6 separate regions of the Homo sapiens genome follow, and regions 2, 3, 4, 5 and 6 are each linked to region 1. The links are contacts of gene promoters, found by promoter capture Hi-C in blood cells and fetal thymus (Javierre and others, 2016). All regions are on one chromosome and are shown on one strand. The core of a region is centred on a gene start or on the middle of the fragment in contact, and the rest is flanking DNA. Distances in the headings are between cores, read along the strand shown.

What was found. Contacts are between HindIII fragments. The CHiCAGO score rates a contact against its expected background, and 5 or more counts as called.
Region 2: a fragment that was not itself captured here is called in contact with the fragment with the promoter of SYNE1-AS1 in region 1 in 1 of 17 cell types (neutrophils); the score reaches 11.0 in neutrophils.
Region 3: a fragment that was not itself captured here is called in contact with the fragment with the promoter of SYNE1-AS1 in region 1 in 1 of 17 cell types (neutrophils); the score reaches 9.3 in neutrophils.
Region 4: a fragment that was not itself captured here is called in contact with the fragment with the promoter of SYNE1-AS1 in region 1 in 1 of 17 cell types (neutrophils); the score reaches 10.8 in neutrophils.
Region 5: a contact is called between a fragment that was not itself captured here and the fragment with the promoter of SYNE1-AS1 in region 1, in 1 of 17 cell types (neutrophils). The highest score is 8.5, in neutrophils.
Region 6: a fragment that was not itself captured here is called in contact with the fragment with the promoter of SYNE1-AS1 in region 1 in 1 of 17 cell types (neutrophils); the score reaches 9.7 in neutrophils.

The regions. Positions count from the first base shown.
Region 1 is chr6:152,378,565-152,383,487 of GRCh38, reverse strand. It overlaps SYNE1-AS1 (SYNE1 antisense RNA 1), which reads right to left and starts at 2,958. Exons shown (of 2, transcript NR_120501.1): 1 at 2,895-2,958; 2 at 1,775-2,428. SYNE1 (spectrin repeat containing nuclear envelope protein 1) reads left to right here. Exons shown (of 146, transcript NM_182961.4): 56 at 2,126-2,482. The HindIII fragment of the contact is 6,155 bases long and covers 1-3,361 here.
Region 2 is chr6:152,133,658-152,138,580 of GRCh38, reverse strand. It overlaps SYNE1 (spectrin repeat containing nuclear envelope protein 1), which reads left to right. Exons shown (of 146, transcript NM_182961.4): 141 at 1,763-1,963; 142 at 3,349-3,477. Among named protein-coding and RNA genes, the nearest start is that of SYNE1-AS1, 240 kb to the left of the region's middle. The HindIII fragment of the contact is 9,888 bases long and covers 1-4,923 here.
Region 3 is chr6:152,156,173-152,161,095 of GRCh38, reverse strand. All of the region lies in intron 131 of SYNE1 (spectrin repeat containing nuclear envelope protein 1), which reads left to right. Among named protein-coding and RNA genes, the nearest start is that of SYNE1-AS1, 220 kb to the left of the region's middle. RefSeq lists a silencer at 409-458 and an enhancer at 529-718. The HindIII fragment of the contact is 6,175 bases long and covers 1-4,923 here.
Region 4 is chr6:152,202,154-152,207,076 of GRCh38, reverse strand. SYNE1 (spectrin repeat containing nuclear envelope protein 1) reads left to right here. Exons shown (of 146, transcript NM_182961.4): 126 at 715-909. Among named protein-coding and RNA genes, the nearest start is that of SYNE1-AS1, 180 kb to the left of the region's middle. The HindIII fragment of the contact is 6,190 bases long and covers 1-4,923 here.
Region 5 is chr6:152,221,146-152,226,068 of GRCh38, reverse strand. It overlaps SYNE1 (spectrin repeat containing nuclear envelope protein 1), which reads left to right. Exons shown (of 146, transcript NM_182961.4): 116 at 193-348; 117 at 1,405-1,575; 118 at 4,510-4,643. Among named protein-coding and RNA genes, the nearest start is that of SYNE1-AS1, 160 kb to the left of the region's middle. RefSeq lists an enhancer at 3,733-4,923. The HindIII fragment of the contact is 917 bases long and covers 2,355-3,271 here.
Region 6 is chr6:152,244,939-152,249,861 of GRCh38, reverse strand. SYNE1 (spectrin repeat containing nuclear envelope protein 1) reads left to right here. Exons shown (of 146, transcript NM_182961.4): 105 at 600-701. Among named protein-coding and RNA genes, the nearest start is that of SYNE1-AS1, 130 kb to the left of the region's middle. The HindIII fragment of the contact is 4,394 bases long and covers 1,087-4,923 here.

The sequences.
Region 1 (4,923 bases), core at 1,709-4,208:
GGAGGAATACTAAAGAATCCCAACTAGGTTTGACAATGAGGCTGTTGGGCAACCAGTCTGAGAAACATTTGCACAGCAAGGGAAGGTGAGAAACCAGGTTACATGGATTTAGGAGTAAATGGCAAGTGAGGAAGAGGAGATAGCAGAAATGGACTAATGTTTCAAAAAGTTAATAAATAAGAGAAAGTAAGATAATTCTTTCACAAAGGCTGCTTCCTGGGTTGACAAATACTCTTTTTTATTGAGAAAGCCTTTATAAAGTGCTTCCATAAAGACAAGGAATATGGGAGAAGGAATTGGCAGAAAGAAATTGGGATGGAGAAAGTGAAGACTATCAGAAACTGCCTCTCAGAAGTTCAGGTCCAGCCTGAATGTAGGTTAGTGTGTGGGTGGTTTTAAAAACCTTGGAGGAAATACATAAAGCACCTCCTCTGTCCTTCAACACCATACCTATCACATCCACAGGAATAATCACTGAGAAAAGGCAACTCTAAAGCAAAATGTATATGGGTGTGAGGGCGGGAATGTACATATGTGTGTATGTGTATATCATATGTTTAAAAATGTAAATACAAGATAAGAAAATATATGCAAAAGCCATTTCAAAACTCTTGACAATGATGATGTCCTTATTCAAATTCTGAATGACTAGATTTCTGATTGCAAATATTGAAGTGTTCCATTTTCATGCTAAGGAAAATTGGGATAAAGCATAAGAGAGTATTTTGGGAAACTTCAAATTTGAAATTGCTCACAAAGGCAAAATAATTACAAGTATTAAGGTCTATTAGTTAGACATAGCACTGGTTAAAAAGTTAGATTTTTTTCTTCATCAAATAACTACTATACACACTAATAAACAGTGATGGTTTTTAGAATCCTGCTGCTGAGAAGGTTGAATATACATATCATGCTGTGTGTAAGGGTTTTCATGTCATTGTAATTTAGACTACTGCACAACTGAATACTAAATACTTTCAAATGATCTATATTAAAATATGGCTCTATTGTATATAATTATGAACAGATATATTTATTTCAAGTTAATTTAATGAGATGCAAACTATATTATATAGACTAGTTAAGACATACTTTATGCTTAACATAATTTATTAAGCATGCTTCATACTTAACATTCCAATGTTTCTTTACTTGCTAATTGGTCATTGATTTTCTTCTTGAACATTTTTGTGCCTGATTATCTTTTATTTCTATTTAATCCGGTAGTAAAGTCATAATTTTGTAATAATATTAACAAAATCCTGCCTTTAGCAATAGATATGTAAATATATAAACATCGGATGATTATTTCACCAAGAAAAATTTTAGTAAGAGAATCTATTCTCAGAAATGCTGCAATTATATCAATTTAACAATGTGATTTAATTTTATCTTGTTTTCCTTTACAGTATTTGTGTGCTTTAAGATCGAGCTAAATTGTTAACTTGGCTATAGCTAAACTGTTAAATTTCTAGTGACTTTTTTAAGGTAAAAAAATACTAATAAATGTACTCAGTCTAGAGGTTACTTTAAACTTTTGAGTAAGTCAGTCTATGAATGAATTATTCATTTTATATGCTACAAAAATGTTTACTTAGTATTGAGGTATTTGGAATCGAGTAGGGCTCATTCTTTTGCTGTGATGAGTCTGCTTGATTCCTAGTAGAATGGAAGTGTGATTTAAGCCACCACCCTGTTGAAGAAGATGAATTGAGTATAGAGACCGTGAGCAGAACACAGTTCTGCCACGATCTTTATTTACTTGAGCATCCACTTTGAGGGAAATATGGGTTTAATCATTCACAGGAGCAATCCACCACAGGCAAACACTTGAGTCACTAAACATTTTCACGTGTGCGAATAATGCCTGATTTCAGGGTCTCTGTTTAGTCTGTTTCAGGATATTGAGGATTCTCGGGATTTTTTTGCCATAAGCCTTAGGCACTCGTGATGACAACTCCCGCTATTATAATTTAAGAGTGGACAGATGAATTGATTCTGGGTCCTTGTGGCACACTTGTTAAAACTTCCTGGCAGGACAGGGTCCCCCTGTGTACACAGTTGAAAACTTGCAGTCCAAGTGACTCACAGGCTCTTCAGTTACCATGGTGATATTCCATTACAGGAGCTGATAGATTCCAGAGAGATTGGTGCAAGCCGTCTCAGCAGAGTGGAGTCGCTGGCTCCCGAAGTGAAACAGAACACAACTGCCAGTGGGTGTGAGCTCATGCACACGGAGATGCAGGCCCTGCGTGCCGACTGGAAGCAGTGGGAAGACAGTGTATTCCAAACGCAGAGCTGTTTGGAGAACCTGGTCAGCCAGATGGCCCTTTCGGAGCAGGAATTCTCAGGCCAAGTGGCTCAACTGGAGCAGGCCCTGGAACAGTTCAGTGCCCTTCTGAAAACCTGGGCTCAGCAGTTAACCCTCCTGGAAGGCAAGAACACGGATGAGGAGATAGTGGAATGCTGGCACAAAGGACAAGTAAGTTGGCTTCCTGTTTTCTATTGGTGGTTATGCTTTAAAAAATGTTTTGACTTTCATCATTCCTTAAAAAAAAAATCTTGCTAACTAAAAACACGCAACATGCACACTTGGAAGAAGTATTTATCTCATTAAATAAGCAAAGTCTGATTTGTTTCCTTTTCTTATATATCAAACTTTTGTAAAAATAAAGATTTGGGTTATTATTTGCGGTAGGAAACATTTGTTGTTAGTGGAGACATTTTACTTTCATTCCTATGGTGTAAGAGTCTGTAATACTGTATTCAGCCATTCAGTCTGAAAAATGGCCTGTGGGCAGGGGCATAAATAGACAGAGAGTCATAGCTGTTTTCTTGCCAGTTAACTATTTCATACAACTAAATGATTGAATTTATAGCCTTAAAAGACTCACTTGGTAATCTCCTACAGCACAGCAAATAGTTATCTCCCCGATTAGCTCTCCTCTGTGTGGTTTTGACAGCTGTTCTTGAATTAGCCTGTTAACAGAACTCTACGTCACCCTCCCTGGTCACCTTCCCGAGACTTTTTTTTTTTTTTTGAAGCTAATGGCAGCTTCTTTAGAATGTGAGAAAGGGAAGCCTACAAGGGAGACCGAAGAATGAGCAAGAGTGTAACCTCTTCTTCGTTTCTTTCACTGTTAAACAGTATCTTTGAAAGCCTTTTCAATATTTCCAGTTTTATAATGCCCTGATTCATGGATGTCCTTAAAAGGAAATTTAGTAAACTTCTCTGCTCCTATTTATATTACAATCATTTCAAAATAGCTCCTGCCAGTAAGAAAGTCATGTAGTATTTCCAGCAGTGTCTGGTTTTAAATCAAGTATTTGAAACAAATGCAGCATGCCATAAAATAAAGCTTTCTACCTCTTTATGCTACTCTATTTATAATGATTCTAGGTTTGGGGGTTTGTTTTTGTTATTCTGTTCCATTTCCTGTCCTTTAGATTTATGTACCAGAATAAAGCATAGAAATCAGTTCTGTCACAGAGGGACAAAGAAGTTGATAATTGCTCTACATGGTATAATATGAAAAAATCAGTTACACTTTCTTGGTTCCTTTTTCTTTCCCTTTCTTTCTATTCCAGTCACAGAGTGAAATTTTTAAAAAGGAAAGATTTGGCTGTGCCTAGATTACATTACTATTCTGTTCATTATTTTTACGTTGATATTATTAGTAAAAATAATGGTTGAGGCCTATAAAAATATACATGAGAATGCAGTAGTAAATATGGGTTTTCAGTTGTGTTAAATAGTTCAAATGTGACAGCCCTCTGTGTATGTCTGCTTCCAGATTTGACTCCAGGGTCAATGCTTTTGATGACAATGCTACATTGCTTCTCAATATTCATGTTTTCTTTTATTTCTAATAATGGCATTTTATCTAAAAGTGGAGATATTTCTATCACAATGAATATGTAAGAAAATGTTAACAAAATAGTAAATATGCTAGGGTTCTTAGGGCATTGTTTTGCTTTTAGGGAGGACTTGTCATTGTTGATGATCACAATAAGAATTAAAGTATTTATTTTATGCAATTAGATGACAATACTCAAGAAATTCTTTAAAACATAAAAACAGATGATCTATAAAGTATATAATATAATATTGTAAAAATAATTCTATTTACTATGTTTGCGAAACTCATTTATCTTAATATCCTTTGGGATATTAGCTTTGGAAATAATTTTCTTAAGCTGTATAAGGTGGAAAGATGCATTCTAGAACTTAACAGAATCAGAAATACATAAGCTGATATTTATATATTGACTCTACTGACATACTTTAGGATGAAGTTATAGAAATGTTTTAAATGTAACGTTTTGGTCAAAAACTTTTCACTTTTAATGTCATCCCATTCATAAGTAACTGACTTGAATCTCCAGTATTTTTATGTTTTTGTTGAATGCTAAGTTTCTTTAGTTCTTACAATGTTCTGTCTTAAGTAAAAGGTTCCATATGGTGTAAAATAGTTGGTCCTAGTTTAGTGTTTGGAATTTCAGAGAGAAATTGTTTAGTTGTTGATGAATTTTTGTAAATAAAAATGTCTTAGACTCCTCCAGCCCAGACACCGAGTTAAATAAAGAATTGACAAACCAAGAGAATGTCATTCCTGCTCTCATAATCACAGCCTAGGTGGGGAGATACGCAAGCATAAAGCCAATGTGGATACTCCTTGTGATGAATGTCTGCAAGGTCCTGTGTATCCTCAGATGAGAAACCCGAAGAGGTGGGAAGGAGGGCAGGGGGTACTTAAAGGAGTTGTTATTTGAGTTGAGTCTTGAGGTATAATTAAAATGTGACCTGACAGGTGAGGTAGAGGAACAGCATCAAGATGCAGGATCATTGAGGAATCAGAAAACACAAGAGAGGAACCTAGAGAGGAGGAATCAGATTAGGAGGATGTAGTGCCACCCCCAAAA
Region 2 (4,923 bases), core at 893-3,392, 240 kb after region 1:
GATTGTGTGATTTTGTTTTATTTTATTTATTTATTTATTTATTTATTTATTTATTTATTTATTTATTTTTGAGACAGAGTCTCACTCTATCACCCAGGCTAGAGTGCAGTGGTGCGATCTTGGCTCACTGTAACCTCCGTCTCCTGTGTTCAAGCGTTTCTCCTGCCTCGGCCTCCTGAGTAGCTGGGACTACAGGCATGCACCACCATGCCCGGCTATTTATTGTATTTTTAGTAGAGACAGGGTTTTGCCATGTTGGCCAGGCTGGTCTCGAATTCCTGACCTCAAGTGATCCGCCCGCCTCGGCCTCCCAAATTGCTGGGATTACAAGCATGAGCCATTGCGCCTGGTCTGTTTTAAATTTTCAAACAGAAAACTTCAAACAAGAGAAATGAATCTCCCCTCCAGGTGATCCAAAAGGTGCATCCCTATAGAAAGGCCTCTACACTACCCCATGAATTTCAGGACAAAGTACCACGTGAGAGAGATTTACAATGGCTGCATTATGAAATGCATTTTTATCTAGAGTCCCTAAATTACTCTAGTAAGGCCATGTTGCATTATAACCAGATTCCTTAAAAAGTTGATGAAGCAAATGCTGGCCAGGGTCTGAGACCTCAGAGAGATTAGGGTAGGGAAATAAGACCTTGAAAGTCATCCGGCATGACAAGAAAAAAGACATCCTCCTTTGTACTTTCTCCTGATGCTTCCTGTCTGTATTTTCTCTGAATAAATCTGTGGAATAATCAAGTATTTTCCACAGTGTCTCTTAAACCCATGTTGTCTGTGTGGTTGAATCTATTCTACAGTATGTTAAGAACCTATTGAAAAGTGCAAAATCAAGACAGATTGGGAACATTGCAGGGCTAGTGAGAAATGATTTCAAAATGCAGCCTAGGTCAATGTGACTTCCAGGATCTCTCACCCTAACTGGATTGGGGGATTTTAAACAGTACCTAGATACTCAATTACTAATACAGACTCCTGTGCTCAAGTTCTTGGAATTGAGCACTGGGTGTTTTGGAAATGCACAAAGCCAAAAATCAGTCACCTGGTTTTTGTGAAATCAAACCTAACTGGTTAGCTCATGAAATACCCAATTCATTCTCTCTACCTTCACATCAGTGTGGCACAGGCAGTATTCTCAGCCTGTGGGCCACTGAGCCTGCAGACTCAGTACATCTGGATCCCAGGGCCCTGGCATCTGTTTTCTTTGCTTCATTTTTAGGCCCACAAATTTGAATTTTGTTGTGGTTGAACCTCTGTACAGAGTGTGGACTCAATCATACTCCTTAATGAGGTCATTGCCTAGCGTTATTGTTGCCTCCTACAAGACTCCTCTTTATTCCTCCCCCCTGCACCCCCTACCCTGGCTGAACTCTAAGTTCCCATTTGATTTTCAAAATGGTAGCTATTCTGAAATATGTGGCAGACCTTCTTTGTTCAGATATATTCTTTAAAAATGTGGATTTGTGTGTGTGAATGTATTGAGGCTGTTGTGTTCCATGTAACATTCTGTTTCTGACGTTTTCACTCTACACCCTGTTTTCTTAAGATTCATCCATGTTGTTAAGTACTCATCTAATTCATTTCTTCCAACTGCCATACAGTTCTCAGTGGTACGCACCCTCTGTCTTTTACCTAGCCATCCTGTTAAGGCCAGTTTAAATTAATGGATCTTTTCATTCATGTGAAACATTTTCAAGGGAAAATATCTTTGTCATTATTGTCCTTGTTTGATTGTCTTTTTTGTTCTTTTCAGGAGCTCCAGAAAGCTGTGGACCACCGCAAAGCCATCATCCTCTCCATCAATCTCTGCAGCCCTGAGTTCACCCAGGCTGACAGCAAGGAGAGCCGGGACCTGCAGGATCGCTTGTCGCAGATGAATGGGCGCTGGGACCGAGTGTGCTCTCTGCTGGAGGAGTGGCGGGGCCTGCTGCAGGATGCCCTGATGCAGTGCCAGGTCTGTAGAGCTTTGGGCAGGAGGTGACTCAGAGAGAGACATTAGCAATTTAGCTGAGTGTGTGACTTGATGTATCATGGTTTCTAGAGGGACGCAGTTGCTCCCCAAAGTCAGTATTTCAGTGAGATAACCTTGTGCCCAAACTTTTCATTTTACTGGAGCATTTCTACATGTTCATGATCATGTTCAAAATCTCTAGGTCCTATCTTCTGTCCAGATAAGAAGAGACTATTCCTCATGTTTATCTCCGTCGCAACGCTCCTTCTATGACTCATTCATTTATTTCCTTTATTTATTCAACAGATATTTACTGGGCAAGTAGGCAGACCCTTCTTGAACATCAAAGTGAGCATTGCAAATATTTGTTTTTCCATTCATACTGTAATTACTTGCTGGGCGTCCACCATATGGCAGACGTGGTGCTAAAACATTGAATACAGCATGGCCTCTGCTTTTGTTGGGGAAGACAAGATCAATAAAATGCAAGCAAATAGTTAAACCAGATACTTGCAGACGTGGATGATAAAAGTAACTGAGAAAAGCCACTTTGAGAGGGTAGTCAGGGAATTTATTTGGCTCTTTGAGCTAACATTGGAAGGATGTTGCTATGAAGGTAATATAATAAATGGAAAGTCCCAGAAGCAGGAAAGGACTTAGTGTCTTTAGGAACAGAAAACAGGCCATTGTGACCAGAGTGTAGTCGGTGAGCTGAGCCAGGGAGTGAGAAGAAAGACTGAGGAGGTGGTCAGGAACCAGATGGCTTTGTAGGTCCAGGCCAGGAGATTGGATCATATTCTGAGCGCCATGGAAAGCCCTGGAAGGAGTTGAAGCCTGCTCTCCAGGTTTATATGTGCCCCAAGAGTAATATAATAGTTCCTTGAAAGCGGGTACCTAAACTGCTGTTTCACCTCTGCACCCACTCCTAGTACAGTGCCTTATCTGTAGGAGATCTTTAGTAACTGTATGTTGAATAAATAAATGGATGAATGAATGAGTGAATAAATGAATGAATGAAGGGGATATGAGATTCAGCCTAGGTGGGCCTTAAAATATGGAAAGATTTGACTACACAGAGAAGAGAGGGCAGCAGAGTTGCTTCCTTCCAAACTGTATAATAGCACTACCCTTTTTTCAGAAATAACGTATGTTGATGCCAGTTTTCCTTTCGTCTAAATTGTCCTCCAAGTAATAAATTAGATGCTTTTGGTAAGAACGTGAACTCACGATCAGGTCATTACAACAGCACCAGTGCCTTCCTCAGAAAGGAGTTGCATGTATGTTCTTAAAACCAAGTATGTTTGCTAATGGTGGCAGTTGAAAGACATTTAAGTTTTGAGAGAAATAAAAATATTTTATTTACAGTTACTTTAAACTGTTTTCTGTAGGGTTTCCATGAAATGAGCCATGGTTTGCTTCTTATGCTGGAGAACATTGACAGAAGGAAAAATGAAATTGTCCCTATTGATTCTAACCTTGATGCAGAGATACTTCAGGACCATCACAAACAGCTTATGGTAAGATGTGTGAACTCTGGCAGCCTCCAGTTATTTTTAGCAGGGTTGCATTTCATTTACAGAAAATGAATATAAGTGGTAAGTGTTGTTTCTTTTTTTTTAACTTTTTGCATTATAGTCTCTACTTTACACTTTTTTAACTCCCTGTGGTTTCCAATCTTTGTAAAGCAAACATGTGCATAGAAGATGATATCTGCTAGCTTTAGAATCTGATTCTAAAGTTGTTGCTCAGTTGTAAAAATCTTAGTGTTCTCAAGCAATCTTAATTAGCTTGTGTTGTTTATTAAGGCAGCTTAATTTAAACTTCATGTTACATCTATGGCCCAAAAGTATATTTGGTGGCTTGTAGTAAAAGGTCATTAAAATATTAGAATAGAATGAGACAATTAAGTCTTTTGTTTGTTTTTGTTGTCGTTGTTTTTTGAGACAGAGTCTCACTCTGTTGCCCAGGGTGGAGTGCAGTGGTGCGATCTCGGCTCACTGCAATCTCCGCCTCCGGGATTCGAGCAATTCTCCTGCCAATTCTCCTGCCTCACCCTCCCGAGTAGGTGGGACTACAGGTGTAAGCCACCACGCCTCACTAATGTTTGTATTTTTAGTAGAGACAGGGTTTCACCATGTTGGCCAGGCTGGTCTCGAACTCCTGGCCGCAGGTGATCCACCTGCCTCAGCCTCCCAAAGTGCTGGGATTACAGGCATGAGCCACCACACCCAGCCGAGTCTTTCAAAGAGGAATTAAATACATCAGATTAAACATGAACCTGAGCATCAAGTTTTCTGAAAGCCAAGACAAAATGGGAAACAAGGAGTAAACTTACTTTCATTATCTGGCAAAAACAAAACATACCACTTCTCAAGGAAGGAGAAACTTTTTCTAGCACTAAATTCAAGAGGAAATTAACTGGTAGACTCTTATACAAGGATCTTTGGACAATATAATGTACAGTATATTTAAGTGACTTTATAGAAGATAAGGAAGCATATTTGAGTTCCATTAGAAGAAAATATTATGCACTTTGTAGCTCTCTGTATTTTTAAAATGTTATGTCTTAACATTTAACACTCACCTAAACTACAGAATTGGTACCTTTTAATTCAGTACCATAATAGTCTTAGAAACCTAGAGGAAATAGCTGTGGAACTGCATTTTTACTTCACTTTGACCTCTGGCATCAAGCTGTGAATGACGAATCACCCCTTTTTTTTTTCAAATCTTGACTAGATATCAGAGGATACCTAGACATACTTCTGCTTCGCTATATTTAATGTTGTGCTTTTCTGTTTAAAAGATTATCTTACATCTCACTTGCATACTAATCTATATTTTAATTACTGTCATATATACATTAACTAATTTGAACCTTCCAATAATACTGTGGACCAGGCATCAAATCAAACTGAGATCAGAGACGGTCAGGGGTCTTATAGAATATTTTTGGCAGAGGC
Region 3 (4,923 bases), core at 1,283-3,782, 220 kb after region 1:
GGATTTTGAAACTCTCGCATTATTGTTAATTTTATTATGTTTATGTCTATATTTCTCTCCTATTTTTCATATATTTATCTTTTTGTTTACTTTGTGGAAGATTACACGTATATGTGTACACACATTACACATATGTGTGTGTATATATATTCATATATATATCTAAAATGAAAAACATGCATTTGCAGATGATAAGGGCTGTATGAGTGCCCAGGAAAATGTAAAACAAAGCAAAGCCACACTGTAAAACTGCAAAACACAAGGGATAAGGAGATCCTAAAGGTTTCCAGGATGAAATAAACTCTGGCTTCTCCAAAACAATACTGGGAGCTGGAAGACAATGGCTCTAACTTCAGAAAGCGGAGAAAAATTCTTTATAATTTAGAATTTTATACCCTGCCACTTAATATCTACAAATTTTACCTCCTATGTACCCATTTTCAGGAAGCTAATGAAAGGTATGCTGCATACATGAAAGTGAGAGGAAAATACACTTCATACTTGCTACACAGGCTACGTACTACTATGCTATATATGCTGCATATGCTACACGCACTAAAGCAAGAGGGGAAATGCTATTCAACTCAGGAGAAAGAAAAAGGGAATTCCCAGAGTGAAGGTGCAGGAAAGTCCCTGATGACAGCTGTACTGCAGCCAAGCCAGCACCTGTCCAGATGGGAGCAGGGGCTCTGGGTGCTCTAGGAGGGATGTTTCCAGGAGGAGCCAGGAGGGGCTAGATTATCTGATGGGCTTAACCACTCCGGAAGGAGTTTTATTAGTTCAATAAGAGAGATAATAGAAGCAAGCATTATAAATTAGAGAGAGAGAGAGGATTGTAAAATCCAGGAAAATGAGTTATCAGGAGATCGAGACCATCCTGGCCAACATGGTGAAACCCCGTCTCTACTAAAAATACAAAAATTTAGCTGGGCATGGTGGTGCTTGCCTGTAATCCCAGCTACTCGGGAGGCTGAGGCAGGAGAATCGCTTGAACCAGGGAGTCGGAGGTTGCAGTGAGCGGAGATCGCGCCACTGTACTCTAGCTTGGCGACAGACTGAGACTCTGTCTAAAAAAAAAGAAAAGAAACATAACCATAGTATATTTTGTTCCTCAAATGTGAAAAATATTAAATAACCATAATCATGAGAACAGTGATTATTACCCTAGCTCTAAGTTGTACTGTAACAGTCATTAGAGTTCAGTCAGCCATGTAGAAGTTTATTTCTTCTCTACTATACAAGAATTCATAAAGTATGGACAAATCAAGCAGTAGCTATGTTACTTAGAAATAGAGAAGTTATATATTACTGAGAAATATAGAAATAGGTTGAATGTGGCGGCTCACCCCTGTAATCCTAATACTTCGAGAGGCCAAGGCAGAAGGATCACTTGAGGCCAGGAATTTGAGGCTGCAGTGAGCCATAATCACACCCCTGCACTCCAGCCTGGGTGACAGAGCAAGACCCTGTCTCAAAAAATTAAAAAGGGTAGAAGTAATACCAGAAGAAAGAGCTGCAAGAGATGGAAATGGTTGCTCCTGAACAGGTGAACTCCGGGGTGGAAAACATGCTGCTTTCTTCAGAACCTGCTAGTCGTTTTTTACTTTTTACTACATTAAATATGCACATATAGCTTTTTAATTAAATTTTAAATTAAGACTTTAAAAAGTCCTGTACACCAGTGGTTAAAAGTAAACTTTCTGGGTTCAGATCTTGGCCTCACTACATTCCCATGTGATCTGGGACAAAGCCATAACTATTTGAACCCTTAGAGCCCTGATTTATAGAACGCCAATCATCAGAGTCCACACCACACAGTGTGATTATACAAATTACTAAGAAGAAGCACTGAGCACAGTGCCTACCTAACACAAAGTCAGGGCTTGATACATTTTATTTTAATCATGTCACAGTTACCACAGTTTCCCTTGTGGAAAATTTTTAAGAATGATTCTGTCCCTACTAAAAATACGAAAATTAGCTGGGCATGGTGGTGCGCGCCTGTAGTCCCAGCTACTCAGGAGGCTGAGGCAGGAGAATCGCTTGAACCTGGGAGGCGGAGGTTGCAGTGAGCCGAGATTGTGCCACTGCACTCCAGTCTGCAGACAGAGCGAGACTCCGTCTCAAAAAAAAGAAAAAAAGTTGAAGCTGAGCCTAAAACTTTGTCTTAGGGCACTTATGTATGATTATAAATCCCCTCAAATCTTAGGGTTGCTATTTCATATATTGATTTTAACAAAAACTTTTGAGTATTTAGGGAAAATGAAATAAAAATGCTAACTTTCTTAAATGCATGGTTTATGTCCAGGGGCCTAACACTTCTTCCAAATGTATATGCTTGCACAAAATGTAGTTTAAGACCTCAAATGTACTTGGTAATCTCATTTACAGAATTATTTGTCTTTATATTTATCTTTAAGCAAATACTAAGTTTAATTTTTATATTACTTCATTTTATATTTTTTAGAACAGCAATTCCTGTGACATATTGTTTCATGTAAGTGAAGGAGGTTATGTCAGAGATTTGAAAGGACTGTTTATACAAATATAAATATTTTAGTAAAATTTATCGTCTAGTGTCTAGTTTATAAAATCTCCAAAATTAATTAAAGGCACTATGACATTTGACAATAGCTAGTGTTTGCATAGATGTTGGAACATGGCATCAAGGAAAAAAATAAGAGGAAGAGCAACACAAGAATATAAATCCCGGGTATCTGCGTAAATTGAGGAATTTTTAGAGCAAGAGAAAAAATAAGCAAATTCAAGAACTTCCTGATAAAAGAAAAGGAAAACACATTAAGGACATTGATGAATATAGTAAACAAAAAATGATACTGGTAGAGCTTACTTTTAATAATGGAATACTTACTTGGAGTAAATGGAGTTAAAAGTTCAATAGAGAAAACAACATACAATTTGAATTTACATTTTATACAGTTAAAATGAAGATTTCACATTGTGGGACTCCAGGGAAATCCAATGCTTTGTTTTTATCATAAAACATTTTACTTCTGCCCTACATTAAAAGTTGCTCTATGCCAGGCGCAGTGGCTCACACCTGTAATTCCAGCACTTTGGGAGGCCGAGGTGGGCGGATCACCTGGTCAGGAGTTCCAGACCAGCCTGTCCAACATGGGGAAACCCCGTCTCTACTAAAAACACAAAAATTAGCCAGGCATGGTGGTGGGCGCCTGTAATCCCAGCTACTCAGGAGGCTGAGGCAGGAGAATGAGGAGGAGAATCAGGCAGGAGGTTGCAGTGATCTGAGATCATGCCACTGCACTCCAGCCTGGGCGACAGAGTGAGACTCCATCTAAAAAAAAAAAAAAAAAGAATTTGTTCTCTGAGGAAACTGCTGATGTCATGCATGATATAGAACCTAGGTCCCTTAAATAGTCTTTCTACATCTTTGTGGGGCACATATGATATTTTGTTACATGCATAAACTGTGTAATGATCAAGTCAGGGTATTTGGGGTGTCCGTCACCTCTGGTATTTATTATTTCTATGTGTTGGGAATGTTTCAATTTCTCTCTTCTAGCTATTTTGAAATATGCAGTACATTGTTGTTAACTATAGTCATTCTACTCTATCGAACATTAAGACTTATTCCCTCTAACTGTATGTTTGTGTCTATTGACACCTCACTTCATTGCCCCCAAACACTCTTCCCAGCCTCTGCTATCTGGCGTTCTACTCTCTACCTCCATGAGATCAACTTTTTTAGCTCCCACATACAAGTGAGAATGTGTGATATTTGTGTTTTTGTACCTGGCTTATTTCACTTAACATAGTGACCTCCGGTTCCATCCATGTTGCTGCAAACAACATAATTTCATTTTTTTATGACCGAATAATATTCCATTGTGTATATATATGCCACTTTTTCTTTATTTGTTCGTCCATTGATAACCATGTTACCTTTTAATGATGGTGGAATTAACTGTTTAAAAAAGAATGCAAATCAGCTGGGCGTGGTGGCTCACACTTGTAATCCCAGCACTTTGGAAGGCCTAGGTGGGTGGATCACCTGAGGTCAGGAGTTCAAGACCAGCCTGGCCAACATGGTAAAACCCTGTCTCTACAAAAATACAAAAACCAGCCAGGCATGATGGCGGGTACCTGTAATCCCAGCTACTTGGGAGGCTGAGGCAGGAAAATCACTTGAACTCGGGAGGCAGAAGTTTCCATGAGCTGATATTGTGCCATTGCTCTCCAGCCTGGGTGACAGAGTGAGACTCCATCCCAAAAAAAAAAAAGTAAATCTTTGGATCTTAAAGCCCAGTTCTTGAGTGCCAGGTCTAGCACATGCATATATACAGGCCCTTGGTATCTACGGTTCTACACTGGTGGATTCCACCAACCGTAGATCAAAAGTATTTGGAAAACAATTTGCATCTGTATTGAATACATACAGACTTTTTATTCTTGTCATGATTCCCTAAACAATACAGTATAAGAACAATTTCTATAGCATTTACATTGTATTAGGTATTATAAGTAATCTCAAGATGATTTAAAGTGTATGGAAGGATGTGTGTAGGAGGTATGCAAATACTACAGCATTCAATATCAAGGACTTAAGCATCCATGGGTTTTGGTGTCCGAGGGAAGGTCTGGAACCAATCCCCTGACAGATACTAAGAGATGATGATTGATTGATTGGAATGAAAGTGATGTATTCGTGAAGTAGAGTCTGGGGCAAGATTCATTTTTTATTGATTAAAGAAGTTAGTTTTACTCTTAGTGTAGACCATTTCATTTGTTCAGTTTATATTTTGGCATTGCTCGCATAGCCAAAATATTTCTACATCCATTTTCTAGTACTTTTGAGCTTGCTGGATTTCATAAATGAGGCTCAATAAATGTCATACATTCAAGGAAATTAAATATTTGTCAAGGTGTAGCCTAGCCATTTAC
Region 4 (4,923 bases), core at 851-3,350, 180 kb after region 1:
TGCCCAGATAGACAATAGCTTCCTAATCTTAGTATATCCAACACACATCCTTCTTCCATTCTACTTTTACTCGATTCCTGAGTGCTTTTATGAAAACTTTAATCCCAACATCAATATTCTTCTGTGAACCCCAGTCACTTTTAGTATAAAAACCAAATTTCTGCAAGATGTCGTCTGGCCTCATCTCCTACCACTCTCTCACATGCCATCCACACTCCAGCCACTGAAAACCATACTTAGTTTCCTGAATTTATCATATTTTTCTCATATAGTGAATGTGCGCATCCTCATTTCTCTGTGAGAAGGTGGCCTCTCCTCCACTCCTGATCACACTCATCTCACCGCACCAGGTCCTTCTTAATCTGGTGAAGTTCATGTCTCGCAAGACACATTCAGCCTTTACTGCTTTGAGGAAGCCTCTCTGCCTCTTGGTGCGCCCCCTGCTGGGTCAGATGTCCCTCTGTATTTCCACGCATCAATCTTAAAGAGTGGTTATCTTATTACATCAATCGTACTTACCTTGGAGACAGAAACTAAGCCTGTCTCCATTGTATTCTCACTCATTTATTCACTGGTGCATGCATGTGCAAAGCACCACTACGGTAAATGCTTGCTGGATGAAAGAGGGCAAAAGTTAGGGCCATTTAAAAATCCTTATGGGAAGGAAACGATGAAAGAAAGAATGAGAAAATAAAAAGCTATGGTTCCTTTCAGTTCAAAGAAAAAGTGTTTCTGCGGCAACAAGGCAGCTACATCCTGACTGTGGAGGCTGGCAAGCAACTCCTTCTCTCGGCGGACAGTGGCGCTGAGGCCGCCTTGCAGGCCGAACTCGCTGAAATCCAAGAGAAATGGAAATCAGCCAGCATGCGGCTGGAAGAACAGAAGAAAAAACTAGCCTTCTTGTTGAAAGTAAGTTCAGTTAGAAAAAAACGAACCAAAAAACCCTTTTAGTCGTTGTACTACTTCCTCCCATTGTTATTCTACAAATCAAATAATGCAAAGATCATGAAATAATACCCTGCAGTATTTTGATTCTCTGTGTTTTATTTAAGACTTTGTCTTATCTTGCACAAACTGGAAAAGTTTCCCAATTTTCAGCATTTAATTTTTCAGGACAACCTCCCAACAAAGTAAAGTCTAATAAGACTGTCTAAGCTATGAATTCTGATTAATGACCAGTATGAAACCTTAGCCATGTGATGACTTTATAAATCCACACAGAAATTCAAAGGGTAGGTTCCACTCCCTAATCTGAGACTCTAAAGTGGTTTTCAAGATTGGTATCTCTTCTTTTATGGAAGGGAAAAACCAATCCAGAAAGATACTCTTAATTTATCTTAGCTGATCCAAGCAAGTTGCCATGAGATAAAATCTCCAGGAGGTGTATTAAGCCCTTAGTTGGATACAGATCACATACTGATCACACAGTAAGTTTTGGAAAATGTAGATTTATCCGGACCTCCCACAATATGCTTTTCTCTCTCACTCTTCAATTGCATGTATAATGCATAATTAAATGAGCAGTTTAAAAAGGACAGGACCTCTAAAATAAGATAATCTCAAGTTAAAATCATGGTAAACCAAGTGACCCAGTTAACTTAGCCTATCTAAGCCTCAGTTTCCTCATCGGTAGAGTGGGTATATAATTTCACCACCTCCATGTGGCCATTGTGAGGACTTAATGAAATAATGATAGTGAATCATGTGGTACCTTACCTGGCTCATACTGAGCGCTAAATGAATGATAGTGATTATCATAGTTGATGTTATTACAATCTTTAAAAGTAAAGACACCTAAATGTTATGGTCCTGTATATGTTGATAATCACCAACACTTCAGTGAGGGTATCTATTAAATTTGGCCTGTCACATGTTTGGATCAAAGGTAATGACTAAGGTTAATAGAAAAGATTTTGCTTTTTTTTTTTAATGCTTAAAGTGTGCATACATACCCATTGGATTTATTCTATTGAATTTTATTTAATAATATATTGCCTTCTGTGTAGTAAGCAATCCATCAAAAATGCCACTGGACATCTATAAAAAACTATTATTTGCACACAGCACAGTTTCATCAGTAATGTAATATGCCAGGTTCATTTTCTTCCTTTTGCTTTTAGGAAAGGATTTAAAACATTGTAACTCATCCTGTAGAGAACATGTTAATCATATATTTTTTTAAATTTGTGATGTGATTTTTGGAGATGTTTCCAAGACTTAATAAGGCATGATGTCTGAGTCACTACATTTGCTTTTCTTGTCTGTCTGTTTGTTGGTGTAGAAAACATCCACTTTAATAGATATTTGCAGGCTCATGACATTAAGTTATTTCCTTATAATTCACGTCATAAAAGGACTTGGTTATAGATTTAGAATCTAAGTCATCCTTGGAAAGAGGAATCCCTCTTCTGTTCTTGTTAAAGTTTATTTTATTTTGACTTTTACACTACATCCGTTTGCCTAAGAAGGAATTTATGAATCTGAATTTTGATGTTTATATAGCCTCATTTTAGTCTATTTTTTACCCCAGCTATAATACTTATCTATATTTAGCTTTTAATACTGTTAGTAAGTATGCCAAATATAGGCATTATAATTCCATGCTCTGTATGTTCACCTTCTTCACTATCATCTCTTAATTTTGTTCTGAAAAGTAAGAAGCTGATCTTTTTTATCTTTCTTTCTTGTTTTTTTTTCTTTTTTTTTTTTTTGACATAGAGTCTCCCTGTGTCACCCAGGCTGGAGTGCTGTGGTGCAGTCTTGGCTAATTGCAACCTCCACTCTTCTGGGTTCAAGTGATTCTCGTGCATCAGCCTCTCAAGTAGGTGGGATTACAGGTGCACGCCACCACGCCTGGCTAATTTTTGTATTTTTAGTAGAGATGGGTTTTCACCATGTTGGCCAGGCTGGTCTCGAACTCCTGGCTTCAAGTGATCTGCCCTTCCTTGGCCTCCCAAAGTGCTAGGATTATAGGTGTGGGTCACAGCACCCGTGATGATCTTATCTCTTTTAGATCAATAAATTTTTATCAACTGTATGTTGATCAATTCAGGATGTTTGATAGTTTTATTGAGAATGTTGTTTAATTTAAGCAGAAAGAGAAACTTTTTGTCTACCCTCACTATGGTTAGCATTGATAAGCTAATTGTAGCCCTGGGAACACAAAGCATAAAACAAAGGAGAATTTGAACAACTCTGTCCCTGATAGACAATTTTTTTTTGTTTTTTAAGAATTTTTTTTTCTGGTAATTGGGAAGAGGGAATGTGGTTATGCACTCTAAGAAGTTCTATGAAGGAATTTTAAAGAGAAATGAGACTTGTGCCAAATTCTCAGTTCAGTTTTTGAATAAAGACATTTTGAGTAAGGGGGCACTTTAGTCAACACTGCTTCCAGAAAATAGTTGTGGTAATAACACCTCTGGGTTGTTATGCTCAAACTAAGGTGTCAGGAGAGAAGTAGAAATAATCCAGATAAGAAAAGACTGATGATAATGGAAGAGATATTGTGAAGGAAGATGGAACATGATTTGACACCATATTGACAACTAAAAGTGATTCTAGTCATGATTCTAGTTGTCTTGCTTTGGAATTCTGTAATTCACGGTGTATGGAGTGGCCACTGGGGAGATGAGTGGGGAGCAGGAAGGCCTGGATTGGAGAGTTTGACAAACGGGCAGTGTTGGACAACATGAAGGAGACTTGTTTAGTTGAAATTAATTTTCACTGGCACTAAGACACCGGATAGGAGTTAATGTGTAGATAAGGTGCTATAAAAAAGATCAAGCTCTGCTGTGGTTCCTGTCATTTTTTAAAATTCTACTTTTTTATTACAAAAAAATTACGTGTGTCTGATTTTTAAAAATTAGGTAATAATTTAACTATACAGAGTAAAAAATGAAATTTCCCTTATTGTGCCATCCAAATTCTCCTATATTCTCAAGAGGTAACCATTGTTACCAGTTTGCTGTGTAACCTTTCAAAACATAACCACACAATAGATGTTTTATTTTGTCAGTACATAGAGCTCTACCTCATTCTATACTGCCTATCTCTACCACCTGCCCTGGCCTATTCCTCTCCAGAGCACTTACTGCTACTTTGCATATTAGATATAGATTTCTTAAATTGTGCATTATCTCTCTTCTTCTACATCTTAATTTACATGGGTTTTTATATATTACACATTTAATCCTTTGCTACATATGTTTCAGCATGAACAAGATAAAGCCAGTCAAAAATGCCATGCTTTTGTAGTGCATATTTCTCTTTCTGTAAGACATGCCATATCCTCTTTTTTTTTTAAATCCCTTATAGTACATTTGGGAAAGGGTAGACATTGGGTGTAGTTATGGATGGGGTTAAGAAAGAGACAAGGTACTGAGATTATAGTCCTACCTCTGCAGATAGATGTGGATTCAGATAACATTCTTGGATACCCATAATATTCTGGTCATTGTGCTTGATGCCTTGACACTCATTGCTTCCTTTGGGCTCCAATAAATATGGAGAGTTTGTATTTTTTCCATTTTCGTAGGGAAAATGGAAACATAGAGCATTATCTGCTTAAAGCCACACAGATAGTCAGTAACAGAGTCAGTTTTGAACTCAGCTCTTCTGATGACAACAGCATGTTGCCTCCCCTGGCAATGAGTGTGGGCATACCTTCATATTGTTCATCAGCGCAACTTTGTTCTTTTTTTTTTTTGCTTTTTTTTTTTTTTTTTTTTTTTGAGACAGAGTCTCGCTCTTTTGCCTAGACTGGAGTGCAGTGGTGTGATCTCAGCTCACTGCAACTTCTGCCTCCTGGGTTCAAGCAATTCTCCTGCCTCAGCCTTCTGAGTAGCTGGGATTATAGGAGCCTGCCACCATGCCTGGCTAATTTTTGTGTTTTTAGTAGAGACAAGGTTTCACCATGTTGGCCAG
Region 5 (4,923 bases), core at 1,564-4,063, 160 kb after region 1:
GTAAAAAGATGACTTTTTTTTTGCATTTGAGTGTAGGAAGAAGTACTTCTGCAGCGTGCCTCTTCTGAAAGAGATAAGCTTTTTGGATTAGTAAAAGGTTTTTAGGACATGAAACTATAATGGCCCAATTTCAGTGCACCCCAGAGTTCCATAATAGAACAATTTAAAGTGACTATTTTTTAAATCTTTCAGGATCTGGAAGATTTGATTAAAGCAAAAGAAAAAGAAGTAGAGAAAATTGAGCAGAATGGACTTGCTTTGATTCAGAACAAGAAAGAAGACGTCTCTAGCATTGTCATGAGCACACTGCGAGAGCTCGGCCAAACCTGGGCAAATTTAGATCACATGGTAATATTGCTCACAGAAAGCCAGCTCCAGGACCGTGTTTGCCAGCTCTGTCCAAACTCTGGGTTTTGGTTTTCCTAAAGTAGCAGAGGAAATAATCAAATCTATACATTATCTCCTTGTACTTTTAAGTCCACTTCGTTATCCTCTTTTTTTTTTTTAAAGTCTAGTTTCTGGTGTTTTCTAGAATAAGCCTTTATTTTAAACATTACTCTCTTAATGATCTCATCCATTCCCATGGCAATAGATCATTCTCAAACATCTGTCTCCAGCCTGGCAAAAGATATACAAAGTGGATATCTGTATCTAAGTGATGCAAACCAAGCTAAACACTTTTCTGACAGAGATAAATAATTATGAGGAAGGAATATCTTAGATGTTTTGTCTTAAGATATTTATCTGAGTGTGTGTGTGTGTGTGCGTGTGTGTGTGTGTGTGTGTGTTTGCGCATATGTGAGATAGATATGGATATTGTTATAGCTATAGATAGATTTCACTTTCTGGGACCTGACTACCTGTATTCAAATTGAAATTTCTCACATTCTAGCAGTATAATCTTGGGTAATTTTCATTACCTCTTAGTGTCTCAGTTTCCTCATCTATAAAATGGGGATAATGATCATACCTATCTCATAAGGTGTTGTGAGGATTAAATGAGTTAATGCATTTGAAACACTCATTTAATACAATTCTTAAACTGTTTTATTAAAAGTATCAACCTCTTATAACTTAAAAATATATATACATATATGTATATATATATACACATATATATGTGTATACATATGTATATATGTATATATATACATATATATATATATTTATCAGTTACCCTTTTAAGCATTTCCACTTAGAACTGAGTGTTTAAAGTGTGGAAGGCATAAATTTCAAAGTTGATACATTTTACCTTTTAAATCTTTTTCTTTTTAGTTTTGTTTGTTTATGATACCTGAAACCCTGATGAAGTTCTTAGATGTTAATATTTTCCCATCAATTGAATATATATTCCATCATTCTAGATATTATGAAATTATAAGCCATATTTGTCTTTTTCAAAAGGTTGGACAATTAAAGATACTGCTGAAATCAGTGCTTGACCAATGGAGTAGTCACAAAGTGGCCTTTGACAAGATAAACAGTTACCTCATGGAGGCCAGATACTCTCTTTCCCGATTCCGTCTGCTGACTGGCTCCTTAGAAGCTGTGCAAGTTCAGGTGGACAATCTTCAGGTAAGGAATTAATTTAACACATCCTTAACGTTCATTTTAATTTTAGAAAACTGAAAAATTACCAAATGGAGACATCATCCTGAAATATTGCCATATGTTGTTTACGTTTAATTATTTTTTAAGATCTTTAAAATTAATTTTACCTGTGTTATTGTTACTTGAGCAAACTTGCCTGTGTGTGCCAAATTCTGGATTAGCTGGTATATAACTAAATGGTTTCCAAGATCCTGTTGTAAAAAAATATTCACATCGTCTTTTATACAATGATTTTATGCCCAACTGAACCTCCTTGATTCATTGTCACTGCCTTTTGTCTTCCTTTTCTCTTCTTATCTGCATCTCCAAACATATTCTAAGGAATGTTCAAAAGAAAACACAGAGAAAAACGGCAAAAGTGGTAAATGTTTAAACCATTCAGTTGCTTCCATTCAGTAAAATATCAGTGGCCTATCCAGCGTGTCCACAGAATCTTCCTTTCTAGCACTTACTGCTTGGTTTCCTGTGGGTCCTTTGTCATTGTGTCCATGTAAAATGATATCCCTGATGTTTGTCTTCAACATAGCACTCTCTCCTGTCTCAGGTCACCGCCCTCAAATTCCTGCTGCCCCCACTCTCCTGTGCACCGGGCCACTCTCACCTGTCACTGCTCTTTCTTCTTGGCTAAAGAACACAGACTATGGGATGGGCAGGGCAGGCCCCTAAGGGATGGGAGGCCAACAAGAGACCAGCATGTGCCCTGCTAATATCTAGTCCGCCTCCCTGGCCAGCCAATCAAAGCTTCTATGTTGCTGACCTCAGATGCAGCCTGCCTTCCTCTCCTCCCCTCTTCTCCCCTCCCTTCCCCTCTCCTTCCCTCCCCTCCCCTCCTTCCTTTTTGAGACAGAGTCTCGCTCTGTCGCCCAGACTGGAGTGCAGTGGTGCTATCTCGGCTCACTGCAACCTCCGCCTCCCGGGTTTAAGCAATTCTCTGCCTCAGCCTCCTGAGTAGCTGGGATTACGGCATGTGCCTCCATGCCTGGCTAATTTTTGTATTTTTAGTAGAGATGGAGTTTCACCATCTTGGCCAGGCTGGTCTTGAACTCCTGACCTCATGATCCACATGCCTCAGCCTCCCAAAGTGCTGGGATTACAGGCATGAGCCACCATGCCCGGCCGACTTTCTTAAGGAAATATTTTTTTTAGGGTAGGGTGGAAGAGAGGAAGGACAAATTTGTCTATATAATTTCTTAACCCTTAAATTGTCGTTACTAAGGATCACGAAAACTTCTTCTGAGGATAGTAAATTTAAAAGCACATCTTATAACTTTGAGGAGGTTAGAAATGCTTTTTAATTTAATATATGTTATGTTTAATACTTGCAAGAGCTGTCTTAAGACATGAAAGGATTAAGGGTCTTTTCCTTGACTGTTTTCATTTGAGGGTAATCAGATATTGGTGTTAAACAGTACTCGATTTTTGTAGCCTACTTCACCTGTGGAGTTTTATGAAGAACTGAGTCTGTCACCTCAGCACTATTTCCAGAGAAACAACTTTCTTTCAGTTCCCTTACTGGTCCTTGGTAGCAGACTATTTAGATAGGCTTGGTAGAAGATGCCAAACCTGTCTGATAAATATTCTTTGCTTTAAGCAATCTTGACATATACAGTGCATTATTATTAATTATAGTCTCCATTCTGTACGGTGGATCACTAAAGCTTATCCCTCCTGTGTAGCTGAAACTATGTTCCTTTTGATCAACATCTTTCTTTTCCCCATCTAATCCCTTATCCCATGCCCTGGTAACTACCATTCTACTCTCTACTTCTATGAGTTCAACTTTGCTAGACAAAAATGGATAAGTATGTGAGGTAATGATATGTTAATTATCTTAATTTATTCATTCCACAATGTAAACATATATCAAAACATCATATAGTACCCTACAAATACATACAATTATTATTTGTCAATTGAAAATCATTTTTTTAAGTTAAAAATAATTCTTGGCAAGGAAGAACACCCAGAGATAAAGCTTGGCAAAGCTGTGCCTTCTTAGAGTCTTCATCTTCGGGAGTTTGTGGTAGAAGCACTGCGGGTATGTAACAAAATAGAGACCTGGCTTTGGCTTTGAGTGTCAAAGAGATCCACAGTTTGGCAGATAGCACGTTACATAACACCATTGCCATGGCTTTGTTAGAAACAAGAGCTTGGGGTAGCAAGGAAAATGAGCACTTAAAGGATTTCTCAGCAAGGCAAATTTACTTCTGCAGGAGGGTGCCACTCACACTTCTGGCTGCTGCAAGAGCACACTGAACAAAGGAGAGAAGGAGTTTTTATCCCTAACGCAGTCCCTATCCCTGCATCCTTCCCCTGTTGGCTAGGGTTGGACCACTCAATCTAAACTGACCTCAGTTGGCTAAGACTTAAACTTTTCCAATTAGGGTAAATATGTGATTCTCAAGGGAGGGAGGGGTAGGAGTGGTCCCTGTGTTACAGCACAAGGCAAGTTTGGACATGTCTGGGCAAGTCAGGACACAACAAGAGCAGGAGGGCTGCTCACAGGCCAGAAACAAGAAAGTACAAGGAGGTGAGGCCTCTGAACCAAGGACAAGGACATTACACAATTAAACCCTTTGAAGAGGAATTTACCATCTCTGGCAGCTTCCTACCAGACAATGGACAAGGGCACCCTATGTGAGTTTTTCAGCAGAATGCAAATGCCAATAGAAGAAGGCTTCATTGCTCAGAACCTCTTCTCATAGCCAAAATAACAAAATCCTACAAAAGAGAATAAATGATTATCTAAAGAAAGCTGATAAAGCATTGGTGCTAAGTCATGCCTGGTTTATACAAGTATATGTACATATTTATGAAAACATATACAAATTCCTTTTAAACTTGCTTATTAGAATTTAGATCCTGTTATGTCATCTATGGGTCTTTTTTTTGGGGCAGAATCTCCAAGATGATCTGGAAAAACAGGAAAGGAGCTTACAGAAATTTGGCTCTATCACCAACCAATTATTAAAAGAGTGTCACCCACCCGTGACAGAAACTCTTACCAATACACTGAAAGAAGTCAACATGAGGTATGGAGTATGTTAACTTTACACACTATTTATATCACAGCCTTATTATAAATAATGATATAATTAAAACAATGACAGTTTGAATTTGAGCTATATAGATTCTATTCCTTTAAACTTCTCTTTCACAACATGAATTTAAGGATAAATAAATGTAGTGAAGAGATTTAGAAAGAATTAGAAGTACTGTACACCCAAAGATTGCCATCATCCTCATTACCTACCCTGAAACTAGGAATATGAAACATTAATTTTTATTATGTTAACTAGAAATGATTATGTC
Region 6 (4,923 bases), core at 2,034-4,533, 130 kb after region 1:
AAATGAGTAATATTTTTGAACAAAATACCTAACAAGATCTTTTTGTGTTGTCTCTTCACATGTTTTTGGCCATCATGGATAATATTTATTTTCTAAACTTCTGGATGGCTTTTTTAAAGCTTGTGCAAATTTTCCAAAAATAGAAGAAGAAACTGATGGAGGGAGGGAAGAAGAGGAGAGAGCAAAATGGAAATCATATGATTCTTAAGTATCATATTATTTCCCAAATCAGGATAACACCTATAGGTTATTTCCCTAGATAAGAGCCACTAATATAATATTTCTGTGCAATGTTTGACTGTGCTCATTTATTTCGGATGTAATGAGATTAGGGTGACAAGCGTTGCTTTTTACATGTATGGTTCAACTTCATTTGTGTTATGTAGAAAATACTTTGGGTAACAGATTCTTCAGGAGTCAGTTTTAGCACATAAGTAAATTGTTACCAGTTCCTTTTACCTTCCCATAGCACAGTATTGTTTCTCCTGGAAATTAAATTTCTGTGCCTCTATGTTATTTCTTAGAATCTGTGTTATATTTACAAGTATTTTGAATTCCCTGTTACACATTTTGAGTTTTCCCGTTGCTTTCCTCCTTAGAATGATCTGAAAGTGCTGTTTACATCACTGGCTGACAACAAATACATCATTCTGCAAAAACTGGCAAATGTGTTTGAACAGCCCGTAGCAGAACAAATAGAGGTATTTATAGCTGCCTTTTCCTAGAAGAGAAAATGCATAGAGGAGATATGACTTACTATGAAATTTTGAATATTCTATGAAAGATTAATGGCTCACAGTGGCACTTTTGTTTGTAGTATTTTTGTTTTTGAGTACTGGGTTTGAATAACATACCAGGTGACATTGACTCTGTTACTTACATCTGCACAGAACTAGGAAATGTGAGCTGGGAAAAGGTATCCATGGCAGATGCTGACCTGAAGGAGTTTTCTGCCCAATGATGAGATTAGATATGAACCTCAATGACATAGGGCAGAAAGTCAAACTGTCCTGGGAGTGGTACTGACAAAGCATTATGGGTACTCAGACCCTTCTGGCCTCCAGCAGGGGTAGGATTAGGGAAGCTTTGTAGAGGGAAATTTGAACTGAACCTAAGAGTTTGGACACACAACAACAGGAAAGAAAGATATCACGGTAAAGAGGACAGCAAGAAAAAAGGCACAAATTGTTAGAGAATTCTGAGCACTTAGGGAAAAACACAGGTAATTCTATTTTAGCTGAATTTAAGATAAATGAAAGTGACTGAGGACAAACAAGATTGGATATGTAAATTTAAGGCAGTTTGTAGGGCCTGTTGAATGTGTGACTTTGGACTTTATTCTATAAACTAGTTACCTGTACACTTTATTTGTTGCATGCCTCATTAGCTAAAAAAAAAAGGAAATAAATATGCAGCATAAGTGTATGTATTTTTATTTATTTATAAATTATAAGCAATTTATGTTATAAATCACAATTAAATTCAGCCAAATTTATTTTCAATTTTTGTTTGTGTACATGCTACAACCAAAATTGAAAATTAATGTGGTTGAATATAAATGAAAGATGTGGTGTTTCATCCTGGTAAATCATCTTGCACACTCTTGGGTGTTTAGACTCAGCTGGGAGATCCCTGGCCATGGAAAGTTGTAGGGGATGTTTGCAGGTAAAAATGAATGGCAGTTCTAGATCTTGCTTCTGGTTAGTTTACATGACAGCACCAGGGTCAGGAAACAGGAGATCCATCATGAGGCTTCATGTAGCTGTACTGGAGAGAAAGAATGAGAACCCAAACTGGCATGATGGCATGAAAATGCAGATAGAAGAAATGGGAGGGATGTTAGAATATCTCCTGTTTCATAAGCTAAGTAATTGTGAGAAGTATGTGTTTTAATAGAATTCTCTGATTTAATTTCAGCGAACTTCCCGGGAATCTATGGATAGACGATAGAGAATAATCTGACATATAATATGTGTGTGTGTGTGTGTGTGTGTGTGTGTGTGTGTTAAAGAACACCTCTCAAAATAGTTTGCAAAACTGTGAGTGTGCATTTTTCTTTTTATTTATTTTTAAAAATATATGTGTGTGTGTGTGTGTGTGTGTGTGTGTGTATATATATATATATATATATATAATAAAAAATATATATTTTAATATGGAGATAGGGTCTCACTTTGTTGCCCAGGCTGGTCTGGTCTTGAACTCCTGGGCTCAAGCAGTTCTCCCATCTCAGCCTCCCAAAGTGTTGGGATTACCGGTGTGAGCCACCGCATCCGGCTGTGCATTTTTCTTGACCATAATTTCATCTGCTTTTTAAAGAGATTTCTCATTTCTCCCCATGAAAAATCTTTTTGTTTTTTTTCTTGGCTTATAATGTATGTGTGATTCCAAAAAAGACTGGAGCAACTGTAGTGATGTCTTGCTTTGGATTTCTAATATGAATTATGAGATATGTATGATCACAAGTAATAATTTTTACTAATTTTTGACCAATATAACTGAATGTCACAGATGAAGAAATAACCAGTTAGATTTTTTTCTTTGAATAAATGGAATGCAACTAATGAACGTGCTAATTCCATGCCTACCCAACTTGGATTAAAAAGGCAATAACAGCAGAGGGCATGGGGAAGACACACCTCACTCAATATAGTCATCTCTTGAGTTGTGCTGTTCCAATCCAGAGCAGTTCTCTTGCCTCATAAACCTGGTGCACAGTTGTCTTCTTGGATTTCCCTTCACCACCATCCTGAGAATCCCTTCATTTCTTCCTATGTTGGATCTTCTCTCTTCTGAATCCCAAGTCTTTCTCTTTACTGCATTGCTTCCTTGTTTCGTTAGTGCATGTCCTTTCTTAGAAAGGGTACATGATAAGTGTATTTTTCCAGATGTATGTCTGAAAATGTTCTTATACCATGTTCACACTTTATTGATCGCTTTGCTGTTTTTATGTGATCCTTCAGGGTCATTTGTTGAATATGAATTCTTTTGGAGTTTCAAGGCTTTTTCTTCATTGTTTTCTAGCTCTCAGTGTTGTCTTAAGGAATCTAAAAACATTCTAATTCCCAAAGGTTTCCAGTGTCCTGAAATTTCACAATCACATGCCTTGGGGAGGATCTATTTTTATCCACTGGGCTGGGAGCTCAAGGGACTCTTCTGATTTGGCAGCTCTCATCTTTCTGTTCTGGAAAATTTTCTAATGATTTATTTAATACATTTCTTTCCTGCATTTTACCTGTCTTCTTTTCTGGAGAACTCCTTTTTGTCAGATACTCGGGTTCAACCCTTGAACTGTCTTACCAAGAGACCTTTCTTTGTCTTTTTGCTCCGCTTTTTGAGAAACGTCCTCAATTTCAACTCCAGACTCTTGTACTGAATTGGCATTTCTGCTCTCACGTATTTAATTTTCCCGGAGCTCACTTTGGTTCTCCGAATGATCCTTTTTGTAGTATTTTTTATTTTTTTTAATGAATACATTATCGTTTATATCTTTCTGGGTATATTAATGGTTTTTTTTTTGTTGTTTAAAGTTCTACTTTTCCTGTATAATCTGTTTTCCTCCAGCTTGCTTTTATTTGTTTGCTTCTGTTAGTCCCCATCTTTCATGTCATCGAAAGGCATATTGAAATCTTTTGTTGCCTATTCAGGTTTAGGATGGAGGACTAAACAGCTGAAAGGGAACTCTGTGTGTGGATGGAACATGATAATTTTAAGAGTTCCTGCAGGATGGTCTCTATGGACCATTTATTTGTTAGAGAATCCTTCTGTCAAATTGTCAGGCCTGTCTTATTGGTGTGTTCAGATATTTTTCCCTCTCATCTCTGGAGACTAGAGCCCTGACTGCAGCACTTCTTGCCCCAGGGAGAGAAGACTCAGGGGCCCCACATTCAGCATGCAGGGAGCATCCAGTTATTTCATCCCTTGCTTTCAGTCAAGCACTCAAGCTCACAGCTGTGTCCAGTGCCCCTCTGTCTGTTTTACCTTCTCCAGAGAACACACTTTCAGTCTTTTACCCGGGAAGAAAAAGGGACAGTATGGAATAAGGAGGGGCATCTGTGGGTTAACTGTCCTTTAAGCAGCTCTTCACTAACCCTCCTTACTTAGCACCCCAGCTTACTTCACCCAGAGTTCCAGAGATTTCTGTTGCTCTGAAGTGGGTGGTGGAGATCCTCCACTGGTTTAGAATTCAGCTTCCCCAGATTTCCTAAGTCAATTATCATGTATTCTTTTGACTTCTAGCTCCCAACATATTGTTGGCATTGTTTTCTTTTCTGTTCCCTTGTCCTTTTAGATTTATGGGGAAAAAATATGCCAGAGAACAAGCAAACAAAATACTCACTCTGACTGTAGGGGGTTTTCAGGAAAGAGAACATTGGACACATGTGTTTCAGCTGCCATCTGGAGTCTTGTTTTTGTCCTCCTTCAGGGGCAACCTCTGTTGCCCTCTTTCCAAACGCCTGCTTAGGCTGCTCCAGGATTTGTGGTCTGGTATCTCCCTTCTCTGATCTCTGCTAATGGGGATGAGTTGCATTATCGAGTATAGTACTTACTTATATTCAGCCTTGCTTTATTTTTCTCTGTTTACTCTGGCTTCCTAACCAGACCATCAGCTCCTTGAAGGACAGGATGAGATCTTGTTCTGCTTCTACAGACCTCACACTGGGAAGACAAGGCTTAGCAATAGCAGCCACTTGAATACTTGTTGACTGATTGATTTTCCACTTCACAACAAGGAGCACAGATTCTTTGACCATGCTGTAATATATGTTTTGTTGCCTCGCTGAATCTCTCTCCAAAGATGCTCACAGCTACGTTTCAAGGACAGCAGAACATGGTCCCTTAGAAAATCTCAGGCAAATACCTTTTTTTAACTATGTCCTAAATGATGCTCTTTTTTTTAACTATTGCTTTTCAAAACTCCCT